Linked DNA regions of Homo sapiens: region 2 is linked to region 1. Evidence: promoter capture Hi-C in human tissues and cell types (Jung and others, 2019). All regions are on one chromosome and are shown on one strand. The core of a region is centred on a gene start or on the middle of the fragment in contact, and the rest is flanking DNA. Distances in the headings are between cores, read along the strand shown.

Evidence for each region. Contacts are between HindIII fragments. The study calls those that stand out against the background at their distance.
Region 2: a contact is called between a fragment that was not itself captured here and the fragment with the promoter of WTIP in region 1, in 2 of the 25 tissues and cell types used here (H1 embryonic stem cells and spleen).

The regions. Positions count from the first base shown.
Region 1 is chr19:34,479,036-34,484,801 of GRCh38, forward strand. It overlaps WTIP (WT1 interacting protein), which reads left to right and starts at 2,723. Exons shown (of 8, transcript NM_001080436.2): 1 at 2,723-3,606. The coding sequence starts at 2,940. RefSeq lists enhancers at 1,796-2,450, 2,451-3,106, 3,107-3,761. The HindIII fragment of the contact is 21,139 bases long and covers 1-5,766 here.
Region 2 is chr19:34,515,004-34,521,198 of GRCh38, forward strand. No RefSeq gene overlaps it. Among named protein-coding and RNA genes, the nearest start is that of WTIP, 36 kb to the left of the region's middle. The HindIII fragment of the contact is 7,287 bases long and covers 1-5,065 here.

The DNA.
Region 1 (5,766 bases), core at 1,473-3,972:
GCACAGTTATAGCTCACTGTAACCTCAGACTCCTGGGCTCAAGTAATCCTCCCGCCTCTGTCTCCCGAACAGCTGAACTACAAGTGCCCGTCACCGCGCCAGTTTAATTTTTTGTTTTTTATTGTAGAGATGAATCTCGTTCTGTTGTCTAGGCTGAAGTGCAGTGGTGCCCTCACTGCTCACTGTAGCCTTGACCTCCTGGGCTCAAGCATCCTCCCGCCTTAGATTCCCAAAATACCTGGGACTACAGGCATGTGCCACCATTGGCAGCTAATTTTTAATGTTTTGTAGGGATGGAATCTCACTATGTTTCCCAGACTGGTCTTGAACTCTTGGCCTTAAGCAATCCTCCCATACTGGCCTCTCAAAGCACTGGGATTACATCACACTCAGCCCAACAGCTGCCTTTAAATGCAGAGAGCTCCCTTTGAGCATCTTTTCAGAAGGCTGGAGATCCTAGGACAGAATAGATCAGGGGTCCCCAACCCCTGGGCCACAGACCAGTATACCACCGCCTGTTAGGAACTGGGCCACACAGCAGGAGGTGAGCAGAGGCGAGGGAGCATTACCACCTGAGTCCCACCACGATTCTCACAGAAGCACGAAGCCTATTGTGAACTGCGCATGCGAAGGACCTAGGCTGTGTGCTCCTTATGAGAATCTAATGCCTGATGATCTGTCACTGTCTCCCATCACCCCCAGATGGGACCGTCTAGTTGCAGGAAAACAAGCACAGGGCTCCCACTCTTTCTATGGTATAGTGAGTTGTATAATTATTTCATTATATATTACAATGTAATAATAATAGAAATAAAGTGCACAATAAATATAATGCCCTTGAATCATCCTGAAGCCATTCCCACCCTCCCCATCCCTGTCTGTGGAAAAATTGTCTTCCACAAAACCAGTCCCTGGTGCCAAAAAGGTTGGGGACCGCTGTAGATTACCTAAATGATGTTGGGATTATACGACACGGTTGTGATTGGATTATTGTCTGCATTTTTGATAACTTCCCTTGAATAGATGTTTAGCAGCAGTATTACTGCTTCTAAGTTTCGTGTTCGTTTGTGCGGATGTTGACACCGCCAAACTGCTCTTCCCAAAAGGATATCCCAATTTGCACTCATACCAGTAGCATATGTGCAACTGTTTCACCACAGTCCTGCCAATATTGTAATTTTTAAATAGTAGATAATGCAGTCCATGAAATGTGATATGACTGAACTGGCTTTTCCTTTCTCATTTGAAAGGTAGACCATTTTTCATGTCCTGGCTTCCCTGGGTATTTGCTCTCCCAAATGCTGGCTTCTAGACCCCGCACGGAGTCTCATGCCTGTAATCTCAGCGTTTTGTGTGGTGGTGTGCGCCTGTACTCCTACGTACTCAGGAGTCCGAGGTGGGAGGATTGCTTGAGCCCAGGAGGTTGAGACTCTGGGGTGTGTGTGATCACTGTGAGCTGTGATCACACCACTGTACTCCAGCCTGGGGGACAGAGCGACACCTTGTCTGAAAAAAACAAAACAGCGCAACTCCCCCACCCTCCGCGCACACGAAATGCTTGCTTCCACTTCCCCTACCCTGGTGGGGCAGGGGCTGGAACTCCGCAGGCTATGGGAAGGTGCTGGGGTTAGCGGCCCCAGCGGGTGCTCAGTGGTGTTGAGGCCACACTGCCCTGGGCGGTCTGGCCGGGACAGTTCCCGTGCGGGCTCCCTGCGCGCTGAGCCACTGTAGGCGCCTTCCCGAAAATCTCTGAGCAGAGAGGGCCTGGAAAACAGTACTCTCTCACGCAACACTTTTCTTGGATCCATCAGGCCCTGACAGATAACGGTTTGGTTTTCTTCCCTATAGCCGTGTGACTTGTACAAGGGATTTTAGTTGTGTCCTTGGGCACGAAGCCCTAGTCACCTCTCGATTCCCCACCTATGTGGCCCCTATGGCCCCGCTGGTTCCAGGACCTCCCCTCGAAGCCTCACCCACCACCCTGGATGCAGGTGCTGGAAAAGGGAGGAGTCCCCATATTTCACGGGGACTGCCTGTGATGGCCACAGGGGAGGCTCGCCGCCCACCGGCTCTGAGCCTGAGGCCTGCTTCTAGCCTGGCCTTGGGGGCCTGGGCGAAGCGACCCAGCGCGAGGACCAGTCCCCAACCAACCCGCTCCTAGTTCTGGGCGCCTTCCCCAGCAGTCAGATGGGGGCTTCAGAGGCCGGTGCGCGGCCACATGGCCCCGGGCCAGGCAGGGGGTCGTGGGGACGCATCTGCGCTAGGCGCACAGTATTCCTGGGCGCGGGACGGGCGAAGCGCCGTGGGTTCCAAGCTGAGCTGGGTCGGCCCTGCAGCGCCGGAGAGCAAGGCGGCGCAGGGAAGGGAGATGGGGCGGGATGTGGGGAAAGCTGTCGACTGCTTGGATCTCTCCGGCCCGGATGGCGCCAGCTGCCTCCAGCTCAGCCTGCGGAAATCCGAGCTCTTCCCAGCGGCCCGACGGCCCGGGCGCCCCGCAGACCCTGGGCTCTCCCCGCGGTGCCTCCGCCGCCCGCCCCTGCGTCCTGGCCCGGCCTCCACGCCCCTCCGAGGTCCCGGCGCAGCGCGGCCGCCGCCACTCCCCCCACATTCCAGAGGCCGCAGCGCCGTCTCCTTCCTCGCATTCCTGCCCCCGCAAAGGAGTCCCTCCGCCCCGCGCGAGGCCGCGGCGAGGAGGGGGCGCGGCCCGGCGCCTGGGAGCTTACATTCCTCCGCCGCGCGCGCCGCCGAGCAGGGCGCCGCGTCCCCCGGCCCGCGCGTGGCCGCCGGAACGACCCCGGCCCGGCGCCGGCCCCGCCCCGCCCCGCGCCCAGGGGTCCCGGGGCGGGCTCCGGGCTTCGGGCGGACGATGCGGCGGCCCGGCCGGAGCGGCGGCGGGAAGCGGAGGCGGAGGTGACGCGCCAGGGCCGGCGGGCCGGGCCATGCAGCGCTCCAGGGCGGGCGCGGACGAGGCGGCCCTACTCCTGGCCGGGCTGGCCCTGCGGGAGCTGGAGCCCGGGTGCGGCTCTCCCGGTCGGGGGCGGCGGGGGCCGCGGCCTGGGCCTGGAGACGAGGCGGCGCCCGCGCTGGGCCGCAGAGGGAAGGGCAGCGGCGGCCCCGAGGCCGGGGCGGACGGACTGAGCCGCGGGGAGCGGGGTCCCCGGCGCGCGGCGGTTCCGGAGCTCAGCGCGCAGCCTGCGGGCAGCCCACGGGCCAGCCTGGCGGGGTCCGACGGCGGCGGCGGTGGCGGCAGCGCCCGATCCAGCGGCATCAGCCTGGGCTACGACCAGCGCCACGGCAGCCCGCGCTCCGGTCGCTCGGACCCGCGTCCCGGTCCCGGGCCGCCTTCGGTGGGCAGCGCCCGCTCCAGCGTTTCCAGCCTCGGCTCCCGGGGCTCGGCCGGCGCCTACGCTGACTTCCTCCCGCCCGGCGCCTGCCCCGCGCCCGCTCGCTCCCCGGAGCCTGCGGGGCCGGCTCCCTTCCCGCTGCCTGCACTCCCGCTGCCCCCTGGCCGGGAGGGCGGCCCAAGCGCGGCCGAGCGGCGGCTGGAGGCGCTCACCCGGGAGCTGGAGCGGGCGCTCGAGGCGCGCACGGCGCGGGACTACTTCGGTGAGCTCGCTCGGCCCGGCAGTTCCCTGCGCGCATGGCTGGGGTCCGGGGTTCCGAGACTGCCTCGGGTAGGCGGCCGGATCAGCGGAGGAGAGCACGGGGCTGGCTGGGGGTGCAGCAGTGCACGGGGTTGGGACGAGGAAGGTGCATCCCCTGGGGACTGGGGAGCGCAAAGGGTGAGTGAGTGCGCCTGGATCCCCAGCAGCGGCTTCACCCCTGCCTCTGGGTCCCCCGACACACGAGGGGTTCTGGCCGAGTGAGTTGATGTGCGGTTCCTAACTTAACAGGCAAGTCAGGTTCATGGGCACACTGAGCCATTTTCTGATAATTTTTTCTTCTTTCTTCTTTTTTTTTTTTCTTTCTTCTTTTTTTTTTTTTTTTGAGACAGGGTCTTCCTCTGTCGCCGAGACTGGAGTGCAGCGGCGCGTCCTCGGCTTACTGTAGCCGTCGCCTCTCAAGCTGAAGCGATCCTCTCGCCTCAGCCTCCCGAGAAGCTGGGACTACAGGTGCACACCACCATGCCCAGCTTTTCTTCTTCTTACTTTTTTTTTTTTTTTTTTTTTGTAGAGACAGAGTCTCCCTATGTTGCCCAGGCTGGTCTTAAACTCCTGGGCTCAAGCGATCCGCCCTCCTCGGCCTCCCAAGGTGCTAGGATTACAGGCTTGAGCCAGTGCGCCCGGCCTGATCTTTTCTTCTTTGCGTTTGGTGCTCTCATTCTATCTGATCCTTTCATGCTTCGTGATGAGCAGAAAGGGGTGCTTCCCCGTCTGCCCCGCCACGGTATGGGTGTGGACAGCAACCGGGAGATGGAGTGGCCCAGGTACCACCGGATACCGCCTGACCCAGGCTTTGGTGATGGTAGCGGCTGGAGAGGGAGACTGTGTGAGGGAAGAAAAGCCCACTTTGCGGGAGAGGGGAACCGTGCCAGTCACACGGGGCTGCCCTCGCCCGGACTGTGCTGTGGACATAGGATGTTTCCTAAAGGAATCCTGCTGCAGGTGCATCTGCAAAGCCCAGCAGCCTCACAGCCTCCACTTCCCAGTGTGGCCCAGGCCCCCTGATCTCTAGTTCTTGGGACAGCTCTTGGGGTGAGATTGTGAGCGGGGCAGAGGTATACTGTGGGGCCTGGGGCGAGAACTTCCCAACCCGCCTTCTGTATTAAGCACCTGGCTTTGGTGGATGGATGGTCACCATGCCTGGGACCGTGGCTGTCCTGGGGTTTGTGTCTTTGAGCGTTCAATGGTGTCAGCAGCTCACGGCTGCCCTGAACTGGATCTTTTTTTTTTTTTTTTTTTTTTTTTTTTGAGACGGAATCTCGCTCTGTCGCCAGGCTGGAGTGCAGTGGCGTGATCTTGGCTCACTGCAACCTCCGACTCCCTGGTTCAAGCGATTCTCCTGCCTCAGCCTCCCCAGTAGCTGGGATTACAGGCATGCGCCACCACGCCCAGCTAATTTTTGTATTTTTAGTAGAGGCGGGGTTTCACCATGTTGGCCAGGATGGTCTTGATCTCCTGACCTCATGATCCGCCTGCCTCAGCCTCCCAAAATGTTGGGATTACAGGCGTGAGCCACCGTGCCCGGCCCTGAACTGGATCTTGAGGGGTGAGGAGTCTGTCAGTGAGGGGCCAGGTGGGGGCATTCCAGAGAGAGGGAAGAATGAGCAGAGGAGGCCAGGCGGGATGAGAGATTGCCCCGCTCTTCCCCCTGGGGTTGCAGCCCAGAGGGCTCAGGTGGTCGAGGGCATATGTGGGCTAAGAGGAGGTGCGCCTGCTTTGGGATGGAGAGCGCCTCCCATCTGTGAGGTCATGGTGAGACTCTGTGGCTGGGCAGGTCTCGTGGCGCCTGTTGGATGGCCTGGGAGCAGGGAGATGTGCCAGGAGCTGTCATCTCCCGTGTCAGGCAGGTGCCAGGAAGAGAGGCTGGGGCTGAGTTTTGAAGGGCATGCTTTCCAGTGCCCTCTGCAGGGGAGAGTGCCCATTTCCCGGCCCCTGTGTACTGCAGAGCCCGGGGGAGGGGGGTGTTCTGTAGACACCCCTGAATCTTTATATGATATAGGGGTGGCTGAGGTCCCAGGCAGGTAATGTGGAGATGATACAAGAAGGTAGGGTGTGGTGGCACATTTTTTTTCTGAGGAGCTGCTAGGCCGGGTGCGGTGGCTCA
Region 2 (6,195 bases), core at 172-2,671, 35 kb after region 1:
ACCCTCTCTTTTCTCTCCACTTTCTTGTGGGGAAACACTCCCCACTCCTTCTTCACTTTCCTCTGGGTGGCAAGCATCCCCCACCCCTTCTCTCCCTGTCTCTACCCTCTCTTTTCTCTCCACTTTCCAGGGGGACAAGCACCCCCCTCCCCTTCTCTCCGTGTCTCTACCCTCTCTTTTCTCTGGACTTGCCTCCTTCCCTATAGGCAAACTTCCACCCTCCATTCCTCCTTCTTCTTCCTTAGCCTGTGTTCTCAAGAACTTAAAACCTCTTCAACTCACACCTGACCTAAAGCCTAAATGCCTTATTTTCTTCTGCAATGCCACTTAACCTCAATACAAACTTGACAATGGTTCCAAATAGCCAGAAAATGGCACTTTCGAGTTCTCCATCCTACAAGATCTAGATAATTCTTGTCATAATATGGGCAAATGGTCTGAGGTGCTTGATGTCCAGGCATTCTTTTACACACTGGTCCCTCCCTAGTCTCTGTTCCCAATGCAACTCATCCCAAATCTTCCTTCTTCCCCCCCCCCCCCCCGCCTGTCCCCTCAGTCCCAACCGCAAGTGTTGCTGCGTCTTTCCAATCGTTCTTCTTTACAGACCCATCTGACATCTCCCCTCCTCCCCAGGCTGCTCCTCGCCAGGCCAAGCCAGGTCCCAATTCTTCCTCAGCCTCTGCTCCCCCACCCTATAATCCTTTCATCACCTCCCTTCTTCACACCTGGTCCGGCTTACAGTTTCATTCCACGACTAGCCCTTCCCCACCTGCCCAACAATTTCGTCTTAAAGAGGTAGCTGGAGCTAAAGGCATAGTCAAGGTTAACGCTCCTTTTTCTTTATCCGACCTCTCCCAAATCAGTTAGCGTTTAGGCTCTTTTTCCTCAAATATAAAAACCCAGCCCAGTTCATGGCTTGTCTGGCAGCAACCCTGAGACACTTTACAGCCCTAGATCCTAAAAGGTCAAAAAGCTGTCTTATTCTCAATATACATTTTATTACCTAATCTGCTCCCAACATTAAATAAAACTCCAAAAATTAAACTCCAGCCCTCAAACCCCACAACAGGACTTAATTAACCCCACCTTCAAGATGTACAGTAATAGACTAGAGGCAGCCAAGTAGCAACATATTTCTGAGTTGCAATTCCTTGCCTCCACTGTGAGAGAAACCCCAGGCACATCTCCAGCACACAAGAACTCCAAACACCTGAACCACAGTGGCCAGGCGTTCCTTCAGGACTGCCTGCCCCAGGAGCTTGCTTCAAGTGCTGGAAATCTGGCCACTAGGCCAAGGAATGCCTGCAGCCTGGGATTCCTCCTAAGCCATGTCCCATCTGTGTGGGACCCCACTGGAAATCGGACTGTCCAACCCGGCAGCCACTCTCAGAGCCCCTGGAACTCTGGCCCAAGGCTCTCTGACGGACTCCTTCCCAGATCTTCTCGGCTTAGTGGCTGAAGACTGATGCAGCCTGATCACCTTGGAAGCCCCCTGGACGCCGAGCTTCTGGTGACTCTCACAGTGGAGGGTAAGTCCGTCCCCTTCTTAATCAATACAGAGGCTACCCCCTCCACATTACCTTCTTTTCAAGGGCCTGTTTCCTTTGCCTCCATAACTGTTGTGGGTATTGACAGCCAGGATTCTAGACCCCTTAAATCTCCCCCACTCTGGTGCCAACTTGGACAATACTCTTTTATGCACTTCTTTTTAGTTATCCCCACCTGCCTAGTTCCCTTATTAGGTCTAGGCATTTTAACTAAATCATCTGCTTCCCTGACTATTCCTAGGCTACAGCCACACCTCATTGCTGCCCTTTTCCCCAGTTCAAAGCCTCCTTCACATCTTCCCCTTGTATCTCCGCACCTTAATCCACAAGTATAGGACACCTCTACTGCCTCCTTGGTGACTGATCATGCACCCCTTACCATCCCATTAAAACCTAATCACCCTTACCCCACTCAATGCCAATATCCCATCCCACAGCATGCTTTGAAAGGATTAAACCTGTTATCACTCACCTGCTACAGCATAGCCTTTTAAAGCTTATAAACTCTCCTTACAATTCCCCCATTTTACCTGTCCAAAAACTGGAAAAGCCTTACAGGTTAGTTCAGGATCTGCACCTTATTAACCAAATTGTCTTGCCTATCCACCCCATGGTGCCAAAGCCATATACTCTTCTATTCTCAATACCTCCCTCCCCAACCCCTCCATAACCCATTATTCTGTTCCGGATCTCAAACACGCTTTCTTTACTATTCCTTTGCACACTTCATCCCAGCCTCTCTTTGCTTTCACTTGGACTGACCCTGACAACCATCAGCCTCAGCAAATTACCTGGGCTGTACTACTGCAAGCCTTCACAGACAGCCCCCATTACTTCAGTCAAGCCCAAATTTCATCCTCATCTGTAACCTATCTCAGCATAATTCTCATAAAAACACACATGCTCTCCCTGCTGATCATGTCTGGCTAATCTCCCAAACCCCAATCCCTTCTACAAAACAACAACTCCTTTCCTTCCTAGGCATGGTTAGGTACTTCCGCCTTTGGATACCTAGTTTTGCCATCCTCACAAAAGCAAACCTAGCTGACCCCACAGATCCTAACACCTCTCAGCAAGCCAGACTCATTGCCTTAACTCAGGCCCTCACTCTTGCAAAGAGACTTTGCATCAGTATTTATACTGACTGTCAATATGCCTTCCATATCCTGCACCACCATGCTCCTGCTGCAGTTAACTAGCCCAACCTATTCCTTTAATTCAGCCCATCCCTTTGTTTCCCATAAAGGATACTTTTAGTTAATTTAATATCTATAGAAACAATGCTAATGACTCATTTGCTGTTAATCAATACGTGGGTAAATCTCTGTTTGGGGCTCTCAGCTCTGAAGGCTGTGAGACCCCTGATTTCCCACGTCACACCTCTGTATTTCTGTGCGTGTGTCTTTAACTCCTCTAGCACCACTGGGTTAGGGTCTCCCCGACTGAGCTGGTCTCGGCATTGTTCCTAGAGTGTCTTTGCTGGTTTTGGTCCTCTGCATTCCCATATAAGTTTAGAAACAACTTTTTGATTTCAACTTGGAGAGAATTGAAGTTTTGATAGTATTGAGTATTCCTCTCCATAACGCTGGTACATGGTGCCATTTATTTTGGTCTTCCCTATTTTCTCTCTATAACTTTTTACATATATATTTCTATGGTGCTCTTATACATGTAGTAATTGATTTATTCCAAGGCATCTTTTATTTTTAATGCCATTGTAAATGTTACATTCTTTAAAGTGTAAGTTTATAAATGTTTGTGCTGCCATATAGAAGGTTTTAATTATTTTATATTGTTTTGTATTTAACATTCAAAAACTCTTTAGTCTCTGTAGATTCTCTAAGACTATTTATATAAATATATCTAATGCATATTTGTTTCTTCCTCTTCAATCTTCATATATTTTACTGGTCTTGCTTTATTGCATTTGTAGAATCTCTAGCACAATGTTGGATAGCAATGGTGAAGGAAGGCATTTTTATTCTAAACTCAAGAGGAACTTTTTTTGTTTTTGCTCTTGATAGCATTGTGTTTTATATAAATTTTTAAATTTCACATAATTTTAGGCTTATAAGAAAGCTGTGCAACATTTTATAAGTATTTCTGGATACCCTTCATCCAGATTCAAAAGGATAGCTTTTGATATTTCACCATTAAATAGAAAGTTTAATATAAGATTTTTTTGTTAGATGCTCTTTATTAGATTAAAGATATATTATTCTAGGCCAGGCATGGTGACTCACGCCTGTAATCCCAGCACTTGGGGAGGCCAAGGCGGGCGGATCACGAGGTCAGGAGATCGAGACCATCCTGGCTAACACGGTGAAACCCCGTCTCTACTAAAAATACAAAAAATTAGCCGGGCATGGTGGCAGGTGCCTGAAGTCCCAGCTACTCGGGAGGCTGAGGCAGGAGAATGGTGTGAACTCAAGAGGTGGAGCTTGCAGTGAGCCGAGATTGCGCCACTGCTCTCCAGCCTGGGTGACAGAGCAAGACTGAGTCTCAAAAAAAAAAAAAAAAGAAAAAAAGATATATTATTCTATTTCTATTTTTAAGAGAATTAAATTTTTTTTTTTTTTTTTTTTTTGAGACAGGGTCTGGCTTTGTCACCTGGGCTGGAGTGCAGTGGTGCAGTCTTGGCTCACTGCAGCCTCAACCTCCAGCACTTAAGTGATCCTCCCACCTTAGCCTCCTGAGTAGCCGGGACTACAGGTGGGCACCACCACACCTAGCTAATTTTAGTAATTTTTGTAGAGGCAGGGTTTCTCCATGTTGCCCAATGTAGTCTCAAACTTCTGGCTCAAGCTATCTGCCCACCCAGCCTCCCAAAGTGCTGGGACTGTAGGTGTGAGCCACTGACCCCTGTGTAAAATAATTTTTTAAATCCAGAAAAGATGAATTTTATAACACATCTCACTTGCATTTAGTGAAATGTCCATGCAATTTTTTTCCCTTAGTTCTGTGAATGTGTTAAATTACATCAAATAATTTTGTAATTTGAAACCTACCTTGCGTTTCTGGTGTAAATTCTCCTTAATCAGCTTATAGTATTCTTTATATGTAATTTCATTCACTTTGCCAATATCTTGCATGGAACATTTTGTCTGTGTCTTCGAGTGGTTGGATTTTGGTGTCAGGATACTAGCTCATTATGAATTGGGGGATGTAGAGGTGATTTCTATTTATTCCAACAGAGCTAGTCTTCTTCTTTTCATAGCCTGCTTTGTACCCTACGACCTGGCATTTTCTGGATGACATCATTGGGCTATGTTGACCTTTGGTTTTCTGTGGGTTGACACATTGGAGATAGGGCAGGACATGGGAGGGAAGACAAGAGTGAGATGGGGGGATTCACTCCCAGCTGCCCTTCTTTGGGGCTACAAGTTGGCCATGGCTGTGTTCCTCTCCTGTGGCCAAAGGTCCTGTGAGCTCACCCTCCCACAAGTACAAGTCTCACTGGATCATAGCAACAGCTCCTTTCCTTGCCTCCCATTAGATATTTCGCTCTTGCTTGCCTTGGGCATTTTGTTATTGGTTTCCCTTAACTTTCCTCACAGCAGAGCCATAAGCCTGTGAACCCAAAAGTATCTGAGACAGGTCTCAATCAATTTAGAAAGTTTATTTTGCCAAGGCTAGGGATGTGTCTATGACACAGCTTCAGGAGGTCCTGAGGACACGTGCACAAGGTGGTCAGAGTACAGCTTGCTTTTATACATTTTAGGGAGATATAATACATCAATCAATGCATGTAAGATTTACATTGCTTTGATCTGGAAGAGCAGAATGACTTGAAGTGGGGTTGGGGGGGCTTCCAGTTCTTAGGTGGGTTTAAAATTTTTCTGATTGGCAGTGGGTTCAAAGAGTGATTGTCAATAGAAAAGAATGTCTGGGTTGTGATAAGGGATGGTGGAGACCAAGGTTTTATCATGCAGATGAAGTGTCCAGGTAGCAGGCTTCAGAAATAATAGATTGTAAATGTTTCTTATCAGACTTAAGGTCTGTGTTGATGTTAAATCCTGGTTGGTTTTTCCTGAATTCCAAAAGGGAGATGGGTATAATGAGGCAGGTTTGACCCCTCCTTCCATTATGACCTGAACTAGTTTTTTAGGTTAGCTTTGGAATGCCCTTGGCCAAGAGGAGGGGTCCGTTCAGATGGTTAGGGGCCTTAGAATTTTATTTTTTGTTTATAGCCATTCATTAAACTCTTGTCACGTATCCTGTGTGAGTGTGCCGTTTCCTTCCTGCAGGGACACTGACTGATATAGGGAATGCACCCTGATAGTTTATGCTTTGGAAGAATTTGTATAAGATTGGAGTGGTGTAAGTGCCTGACAGGTTCTTCCTGCCTGCTGCACAAGCAAATCAATTCATGGAGACCATGGCATTGCAGTGAAGAAAGAGTTTAATTGATGCGAGGCTGGTCAAACCACACCAGTGACAGAGTTATCATCAAGGCAATCTCATCGAAGGCTCAGAGGCCAGGTGTTTTTCAAATATGCTTGGTGGGCAGGGAGCTCGGGTATGAGGAGTGCTGAGTGGTTGGGTTGGAGATGAAATCATAGGAAGTGAAGCTGTCTTTTTGCATGGAGTTACTTCTGGAGGCCACAGGAACAACTGGTGGGTCCAGGAGAAGCCATTGGTGTTAGAC